Linked DNA regions of Homo sapiens: region 1 is linked to region 2. The links are contacts of gene promoters, found by promoter capture Hi-C in blood cells and fetal thymus (Javierre and others, 2016). All regions are on one chromosome and are shown on one strand. The core of a region is centred on a gene start or on the middle of the fragment in contact, and the rest is flanking DNA. Distances in the headings are between cores, read along the strand shown.

What was found. Contacts are between HindIII fragments. The CHiCAGO score rates a contact against its expected background, and 5 or more counts as called.
Region 1: a fragment that was not itself captured here is called in contact with the fragment with the promoter of LDB2 in region 2 in 1 of 17 cell types (endothelial precursors); the score reaches 5.2 in endothelial precursors.

Annotation. Positions count from the first base shown.
Region 1 is chr4:16,766,966-16,771,888 of GRCh38, reverse strand. All of the region lies in intron 1 of LDB2 (LIM domain binding 2), which reads left to right. Among named protein-coding and RNA genes, the nearest start is that of LDB2, 130 kb to the left of the region's middle. The HindIII fragment of the contact is 2,908 bases long and covers 1,225-4,132 here.
Region 2 is chr4:16,896,894-16,901,475 of GRCh38, reverse strand. LDB2 (LIM domain binding 2) reads left to right here and starts at 2,831. Exons shown (of 8, transcript NM_001290.5): 1 at 2,831-3,122. The coding sequence starts at 2,991. The HindIII fragment of the contact is 2,891 bases long and covers 2,394-4,582 here.

The DNA.
Region 1 (4,923 bases), core at 1,429-3,928, 130 kb after region 2:
GGGTATTGTTAAAAGATCCTCCAGGCTTCTTTGCAGAGCACAGGTTACAGGGGAACAGGAGTGGGGGCTGAGAGATGAGTTAGGAAAAAGTCATTGTTGTCCAGGCTGAAGTTACTGGAGGCACAGAGAAGGGGTGGCAGTGGAAGGAAAGAAACATGGGTGGATTTCCATTCATGTGTTGGAGGTAAGTTCATGGGATTTGCTGACAGATTGGAGGTGTGGAGTTAGGGTAAGACAGGAATCAAGAGTATGTTCTCAAATGCTGGCCTAAGTGACTGAGAAACTGGAATTATATTATGGAGATGGAAGAGAATGAGAAGAATTGGCTTGTAGGGGATGGAGTTGGGGGAGATATCTGGCTTTGGCCATGTTAAGCCTGAGATGCCTCTTTGGTTAAGAAGTGGAGAGGTGAGTGAGGCAGTTAGAGTCACAATTCTGAAGTCCCAGGGAGAAGTTTGGAGCTGTAATATGTACTTGGGTGTCACTGACAGAGAGAATTCAAGTCCCCTGGTAAACAGATTTGTAAACAGAGAAGAGAATAGAAATGATTGACCATCATCAAGAAAAACATTATTTTTTTCTAGGTTTCAAGAATATTCTGGGTTTCTTATATTTGTCTTTGTGAACAAAAATTTTTTTTTCATTTTTTCCAAGTAGGAAGAGAGAAAATCTTGAGTTTTCTTATCTAGTGGTTTCCTGTGGCCTTGGTCCTGGCACAGTCCTCCAATGTTTAGTGGTGACTTGAAGAATTATTCTTGTCATTTGATCAACTATTCAAATGCAATAGGGTGGGTCACAGAAACAAGATTTTGAATCTTGCAAGCTTTTCCAGAAACATTCCCTTGTCTGCTGTGTTTATGTTGGAATGGAAAATTTGTGCCTGATTTTACAGTGAACTTTTCTCAAGATATACGACTTGCTGCCTCATGACATTATCCTGCATCTCGGGACCTCTCACACCTAGATGGTGTGATGTAATACGATGCGCGGTGCTCACTGCCACAGAGCTGTCATGAACAAAACCTGTGCTTCTAGAGTAATGCCTTTCCACGTCATTTTCAAAGTGGCTTTGCATAGGGTTCCCAGTATATTCTTTTTGATTGTGAGAGTACATGTCTCCATGTTTGAGTATAAAATAGGAAATTTAGTTATTAAAAAACAACCAATCCTCTTTCATACTAGAATAGTATAGAGTAGAGATTGCAACAGGCAGCGAGTAAAGCTTTGTGGATGGAAATAAAAATTTATGAGTCAGAGAGGATGCAAATTCCAATGTTGCCGCTTATTTGATTTGTAACCTTGGGTACATTTCTTAACCGCTTGGGGCCTCAGTTTCCCCACTGACATTGGGATAAGAAAATTACCAACTTGATAGAGAGCCTGTGAGGACTAGAAAATACTACATTTTGAAACTCTGTGCATTTTCACTGATTCAGTCATCAAAGAATCAAAGCCCCTGTTTCACAAACATGTAAATAGAGCAGAGAGTGGCAGTGTTCAATTATCATAAAATTAAAAGTGCTGGTTTTCTTCTGGGTTTTGAGAATATGCTGGGTTTTAGTTAAATAAATATTTATTTGTTGAATTAAGTGATTTAAATAATTAAATAATGGAGCAATTATTTGTTGTCTTCCTGCCATGTGTTAGATACTGTGCATGTAAAACACACCAGACATGGGTAAGATGTTGCCCTCAAAAAGCTGACAGGAATCCCAACTTCAAAAAAAAATTATTTCATCACACTTGTAATAAGTCTGGTAGCAAAAAAAGCTCAATTGTTGGCACATACACACTGAGGCATTTGAGTCATTGCTTTTAGTTATTCTAACTAACATTTCTGTTTGGACTGCTCAGAATTAATTACTGATTTTGTGGATCAAAGCTGGAGATTCAAATACATGAATTTCTCAGGTCTTTGGGGGGAAAACCACTGATGTAACTTCTACTGAAGAGCTGTGTCTACTGGATACCAAGTCTTGTCTTTCTGCACATTTTAATATGCGACTTTCTCAAGGCAGCATCCACAGGCACTAGACAGGGAACTATAGTGAGCACCTTCTAAAAGGGAGGGCTTGATTTGTGAGTGAAACACCGAGATGCTCTCTCAAAACACACAATTTGCTATGTTGGTAGTATGCCGTTTTATAATTCAGTTAAAATAATAACTAATGCTTACAGTTAAATAAAATGCAATTTAGCTGAGAATGAGCAAATCACAGTTGAGAATTAGAGAAGAAAAATTCAGTCTCTAGAACATGAGTTGTTTAAGAAAAAAAAAAAAAAAATCCCATAGGGCTGGGCACAGTGGCTCACACCTGTAATCCCAGCACTTTGGGAGGCTGAGGCGGGTGGATCACCTGAGGTCAGGAGTTCGAGAGAAGCCTAGTCAACATGGTGAAACCCGTTTCTACTAAAAATACAAAAATTAGCTGGGCATGGTGGTGGGCTCCTGTAATCCCAGCTACTCGGGAGCCTGAGGCAGGAGAATCGCTTGAACCCAAGGGGCGGAGGTTGCAGTGAGCCGAGACTGTGCTACTGCACTCCAGCCTGGGCAACAAGAGGGAAACTCCATCTCAAAAAAAAATAAAAATAAAAAATAAAAAGAATCCCATAAAAATAAGTAAAAAAGGGGAGATTTAAAATTCCCTCTCTGCATCCTTTTCATGCTTGTGCAGCTACCAGCTGGCAAGGGCAAATGGTCTTACCTTATTACTTTTATTTGTGTGTCTTCAAGCCGAATTCCATAGGTGTGATGGAAATCCTTGCTTTGGGCTGCCTGTTCCAGAGAGAGACCCAAACGTTCAGTGCACTTGGCCTTGACTGGATGTTGAAACAACTAAGAAGACAGATATTTTAGAGATATTGTTTTGAATAAAGGAACATCATAATGGAGCAGTCATGAGTCTAAACTTGCTAGCCAGTAGCCAGAGTCCTTGGGGTTGAACTCTTTCGTGGCAATTTGATAGCTGTGTCATGTTAAGCAAATATCTAACTCCTCAGTGCCTCAGTTTTCTCATCTATAAGATGGGGTTAATAATGCTACTTATATTATAGGGTCATGGTGAGGTTTTAAGGGGTTTATAATGTGCAATGAGTTCAGAAGGGTGACTGGCATACAATAAGTGCCTTGTAACTGTTGACTATTATTATTAAGGGAGGCTGATTCAAAATAAACATGGTTCGAGATAGACCCTTGGTTTTGGAGAAAGGGTGGCTTGTGATTAAGGAATCAAAAACACAGTTACAGTCTTGGAAAACAAATGACCTGAGCTTCCTACAGTGTGAGAGGGACTCTAGGTAACAGAAAGGCAGAAGGCATGAGATTTGGGATTTTTTTTTTGTCTTCTTTCTTAATATCTGGATATGGCAGAAAAAGAAATGTAGGCAGAGCAAGTGTAGCAAGTGTGTTTCTGCCTCGGTCATTTCAGGCAAATTTATCCTTTCTTCAGTATCTTCTGAGAAAGGTTAGCTGATGCATGTAAAACAGGAGTGACTAAAATAGTAAGATACAAATTAATAGTGTTATTTAAATGTGTGTGTACAAGAGAGTAGGGTTATAAGATGAGACATTCTCATTTTTTTCTAGAACCACAAGATACTGAAGAAAGTCAATGCCCTCCCATCTCCCATCTTTCAGACCCCTTCAGAATGCTCTCCACTTTGACCTGTTTAAGTTTATTTTAATAAAAAAAAAACACATTTTCAAGGAATAGATGCTTTAAGTATGGTTCATTCTTTGGAGGGGGTGTATGTGTACCACATGACAAGTGGTTGCCATGGTAATTTCTCATTATTGTTGAATTGAAAAATAATTACTCTGGCAAAAATCCCACGTAACCTGTCAGTGCTTAAGTTAAAGATGCCGAGGGGCAGCCCTGGCACCGGGATCCTGTTTTTGGTGAAGAGGGATAGGGTTGGGAACAGGAGAGAATCTAGGATGGAAGCAAAATGCTTCTGTAGATTTTTAAACATAATTAAGACTCTCTTCTGCTATTTGACATGACTGTGTGTCTCATCCTGATATATGATTAGGCTGCTGGTGAAATTTGGGTTCACCTGTGAGATGGGACAAAAGGACTAAGGACTGTAATAGCACAAATGCATATAGGGGATTGTTTAGAATAAAGAAGCTTTGATGATATTTTTTCCTAATTAAAATATGGAAGAATTGTCAACAACCACTTCCCCTGTCTGTGTTCAGGCTGAGTTAATTTCATCTTTATTTACCTGGAGGCTGCTGTATGCTATTGTTACTTTCTAGCTTTGGGGAAAAGAATTCACTTTTTACTTATTAATATTCACTAAACACTCGCCACACACAGTTCAGATACTAAACAACAGCAAGAATTGGAAGTAGCTGTCTGTTGGGAAAACACGTGTCCCAGATCAGAAGCCCTGTGGCAGTGTGCAACAGAGCTCAATCTACACATGAGTTCGGGCATTTGGTACTCAGTCCTCCTGATCCATGAGTCATTGTGGAGTGGCATGGAAAACCTACGTTTGCTTTCTTTCCTATGCTTGTGTCAAGAAATAATCCTCCTTTTGGTTAATGAAGGCCTTAATATACACTCCTCTTTTAAAAGAATGATCGGCAAAGTTGGAGTATTATTAGTAGTGTTACTCCATTTTTGCATCTTTTTTGGACTTCTAGATATTCATCCTTCTCCCAGCAGAGCTAGTCTCTGTTTTTGTCATTAAGCTGCTCTTGCTACTAGAACCCACTTGGAAATATACTGCTTAACAGTACTCTTTGAATCTCTACCCATGCATCAATCAGACCAGATGCAGATGCTTTTAATATGAAAGTACAGGGACCTCCTAATGAAAGGACCAAAATATAGACAGGTACAAACCCTATGTCTAGGCATATCCACTTTAGGCATGTGCCTGAGAGAAATTCTTACATATAAACACAAAAGGAAA
Region 2 (4,582 bases), core at 1,582-4,081:
CAGGGTTCTAATGCATTTGGATGTATTTGCTAATCCTTAGCAACAATCTTATAGACTAGTTTCTATCATTGTCCTCATCTTGCAATGAGATAACTGAGGTGCAGAGAGACTGAGTCCTTTGCTCAGGTTCACGCGACAACTAGATGGTGGAGCTAGGGTTGAAACGTGCTCTGGCCCTGCTGTTGGCTCTGCCTCTATCCACTGTGAATGGAATATTTGTTGAATAAATAAACAAATGAATGTGTAATTTAAAAAGATTTATGGAGGAGACAATTTAATTTAATAGAAGGATAAGTAGCAGTTTGTAGGTAAACTAGGGCCAGAAGTACAAATGTGGCCATGCATAAGAAAGATTGCAAGTTTAGGAAGATCAAGTATAGCAAATAAATAAATGAATGAACACACAAATGAGTAAATGAATGAGTGTGTGTGAGTGTGTGTGTGTATGTGACAGAGGGAGAAAGAGACAGCACAGAAGTGCGGGTCTTACCGAGCCCTGTATGCCATGTTCCTAAGGAACTTGCACGTTTTCCTTCTGGCAGCAGGGAAACACTGAGGGGGAAAACATGGGACATGATCGCTTTCACTTATCTGAAATCCACATTCTCATTTGAATAAGGACAGACCACAAGTTAGAAGAGGACTGTGAATCTGTGGGCAGGGGGACCAGTTCGGAGACTCCTGAAATAACGGGGATGAGAATCAGGGATATGGATCAGCATTATCAAGTTTCAGATAGTTCTGAAATGAGAGTCTTTCACTATTAATGGCAAGAAATATTTCCAATTATAATTGGCAATGGTCTGCAGAAACAAATGAGAGCAAACCAGAACCTTATTCAGAGAGGGATTCCCTTCCTAAATGGATTTTTGAACTGTTTCATTTTTTTTTGTTACTATTGGCCTGCACAGGCCTGCCTAGGTGTTACTTTCATTCTTGCACTGAAATGGTCACATTAACACAAACTCAGGCAGACACTAAACTTTCAGAATGTCTTTAGTTTGAGAGTTTAAACATAAGGAACCATTAGGTTTTGCAGTGGCTGCCATACCAAAACGTAAATCATGCCAAAATTGTTTGAAATCCTGTCTTTAGAAGGTTGTGTGTTTTGACAAACCTTGCAGCAAATTTGGTCCAGCTTTCGGATTTGTAATGAAACCTGAAACCAAGCATTCTCGCCTGCCTTGGGGTCTCCTAGCGCAAGTTCCAAGCAGCCTTAGTGTAATACCTACCCTAATCTCATCCTGGGAAGCGACATTAGTGTGTTAGGCTGCGCTGCTGGAAGTTTGGGGTGGACTCAGCAAATATTTCATGCAATTATGAAGAAGGACTGATCAAGACAGCAATACACTTTTCTGTGTCTGAGTATTTTTAAGAGTGTAAATTGCAGAATTAGCAATACTCTATCCCCTGTTGGCTAGTGACTTGGAGATACCCAAGCCATGATTGGGGCAGAAAGTTAATTAATCTGCTTATTAAAAAGAAGAAATGTCTCATTTGCATGCATTTGCATTCAGGTCTTGAATTCATTATGCTTTTTGGTGGTCCTTTGCTTTATTTCCTTAATACCACTGACCTACCTAGGTGTTAGCTCAATACATTTAAATTTTGTGTGGCTGGGCTTTGTTTAAGTGTCGTATCTCTGGTTATAGTGGGTTCTAGCAGAATTTGATTATTTTATAGATTGTTTAATTCTCTATAGAGATTTTCCCCTTCCATGGGCTGTTGGGATTTCTTATGGTTATCATATACCACAGTTGGGAAAATATTTGTTTACTTGACCAATCTTGGAAAATACAGACTTTGTCTCCATAAGAGTTGGACATGTTATCTGGGGATGATCCATTCAATTATTTGCAATTTCCTTCTCAACCAAATTTTCCGTGGTCATTTTTGTGGCAGTTTTCTCCTTCTTTGCTTTTCCTGTCTTATTGGGAGGTCTGTTTGGGTTTTTTGTTTGTTTGTTTGTTTGTTTTTCCTTCCTGGGAAAAAAGACCATTGCTCTCCTTAAGTGTATTTTATACCTTCCACATTCAGAACGACTGTTTTTACCTGAAAATGCCCAGGCACCTTAAGGGCCTGAATGAAGTCTTTGGAGAAGAGGGAGGTGGCTGGGAAGAGGGGTGAGTGGGGAGAGATGGGAGTGAGATGGAGTGGAGGGCAAAGAATATAACAGCCCTTGGAACAACAGCAAGTAAAGCAAAACTACATAGGGAGATTAGTGCTGAAATAAATCTCTGCATGTGAGTGAATCACCGGTCCCAATTCGGGGCACCACAGTGCCCGTGTTTCTGTATTTTGTAGTAATCAACATTTCTGATACATTACAACAGTGTGGTTGTCAGGGGTGAGCGGCTCATGTAGCGGTTAGACCACCTCTATGCTAACAAGCTTAGCAATCAGGTTGTGAAGGGTCCTGGCTGGAGGAAAAAAATTAAAACCAAACCTTAGACCTCTTGTCAGACTGTGAGGAGAATTATATTTGTGAACTAGTCTACAATGTGGACAGGAAATGACCTCTCCACAAACTGCTTCTTTAAAAACAAGCAGTGGTGCCTAAAGCTATCCAGCTCCTCTCTCTCTCTCTCTCTCTCTCTCTCTCTCTCTCTCTCTCTCTCTCTCTCTCTCTCTCTCTCTCCCCCTCCCTCCCTCCCTCCTCCCTCCCTCCCTCCCTCCCTTCTTCCCTCCCTTCCTCCATACCAACCTCCCTCCCTCTCTGGAGCTCCTGCTCTCTCCCTCTCCCTCCTCTCCCGTGCTCCCTCCCTCCCTCCCTCTTTCCCTCCCTCCTCTCCTCTCCCTCTCCTCTCCTGCTATAGAGGGCTCCGACAGCAGTTCCCAGCCAGCGTGTTCAGCCTGCCTGCCTGCCTGCCTCTGTGTGTGTGTGAGCGTGTGTGCGTGCGTCTACTTTGTACTGGGAAGAACACAGCCCATGTGCTCTGCATGGACGTTACTGATACTCTGTTTAGCTTGATTTTCGAAAAGCAGGCAAGATGTCCAGCACACCACATGACCCCTTCTATTCTTCTCCTTTCGGCCCATTTTATAGGAGGCATACACCATACATGGTACAGCCAGAGTACCGAATCTATGAGATGAACAAGAGACTGCAGTCTCGCACAGAGGTAAGTACTTCAACCTTGGGGATGTGTTTGTGTATTTTTGTTAAGCTATGCATGAGCTTTTCCTAGGGTTTCTGGCTGAATTCTATGGGAAGTGTCCCACTTGATACTACCACGTACGTGGAAATGAGCGCCAGGATGAATCCACGAGTTTGGACGCTGGGTTTCCAGGCACAGCAACTCTTGTAGCAGAGGACAGTTTCTGCCGGAATCTTGAGACAACCCAGCACTTGATTCACATGCCGGGTTTCCAGAAATGTTGCTCTTCCAGAACTCTGGTGTTTTACAGGCTCTGAGTCAGTCCTGTTGGTGTTTCTTGAGATATAATTCCAAGGAATTTTGTGATTGTTTGCATCTGGCTATATATATATATACATATGTGTATATATATATATATATATATATATATACATATGTGTATATATATATATATATATATATATATATATATATATATATATTTTCTTTTTTACAAATCCTAGAGGAAGTCTGCTTTGACCTGTATTTACTTTTCAGAGTCACCAAAATCGAGGTAAAAAGGGGCAGAAGAGTAAACCTGCCTACTTCTCAGAACTAGCCCTGGAGGGACACATGTTTGTATATTTCAGTGTTAAAATCAGAAACCAGTTGCTTGGGGCAAGGGGACTCTAGACTTTCTCCTATTGCTGTCGGCCGTGCCCCCCTATCACTCTACCTTAGGACAGGAGCTGGTTCAGCTTTCAAGTCAGCTCTAGTTTTTGCATATTTGAGATCTTGTGCCTGAGAGAGGGAGACTCAGCCTCCTAGGCAGCCAGCAACTCTGGGAGCAGAGAGAACAGGACTTTCAGAACTTTTTAAATGCAAAACTCCAGACTCGCCTCCTGCAATTTAAATATTTTATGTCAGTTGACTTTTTCTCTGTGCTAGCTCAGCTGGCAGGTCTTGCTGCTGGATTGTCCATCTGCCTGTAAGTTGGGGCTTTGTGTGGAAGTGTTCGGAAAAGGAGTTTGTTATAGGTGCACCAAAGTCACTTTAGGAAGTGGAAATTGCTAGGAATTTAGTCTTCTCTGCAGAGTATAAATACCACAAGATTTATGCCAAAGAGCTTTTAGGGAATAGCTCTGGTGGAATTTTAGATTGAAGATTGACTTTTAACTCTAGGAAGGGACTCCATTAAGTTTGTGCTATGGGATAAAACACAGTTGGCTTGAATTGTCAACAGAGCCATAGAGAATTCATGACGTTTCGTGTATTTAATACAGCTAACAAGATGTGACCTGCTTTCTGATTGGCTAACTGCTGGACAAGGACTTATATGTATTTTAAAAGCTGGGTTGTCTTTAATGACTGCTGTTTTCTTTATATGTTAATACACCATAGACGCTAAATATGACTGCTGGTACTCTTGCTCTTTCTAGAAGCCAGTAGCTTCTATAGAAGTGCAAACTATGTTTTGCTTAGGATAGTGAACTGTTGGCAGTGAC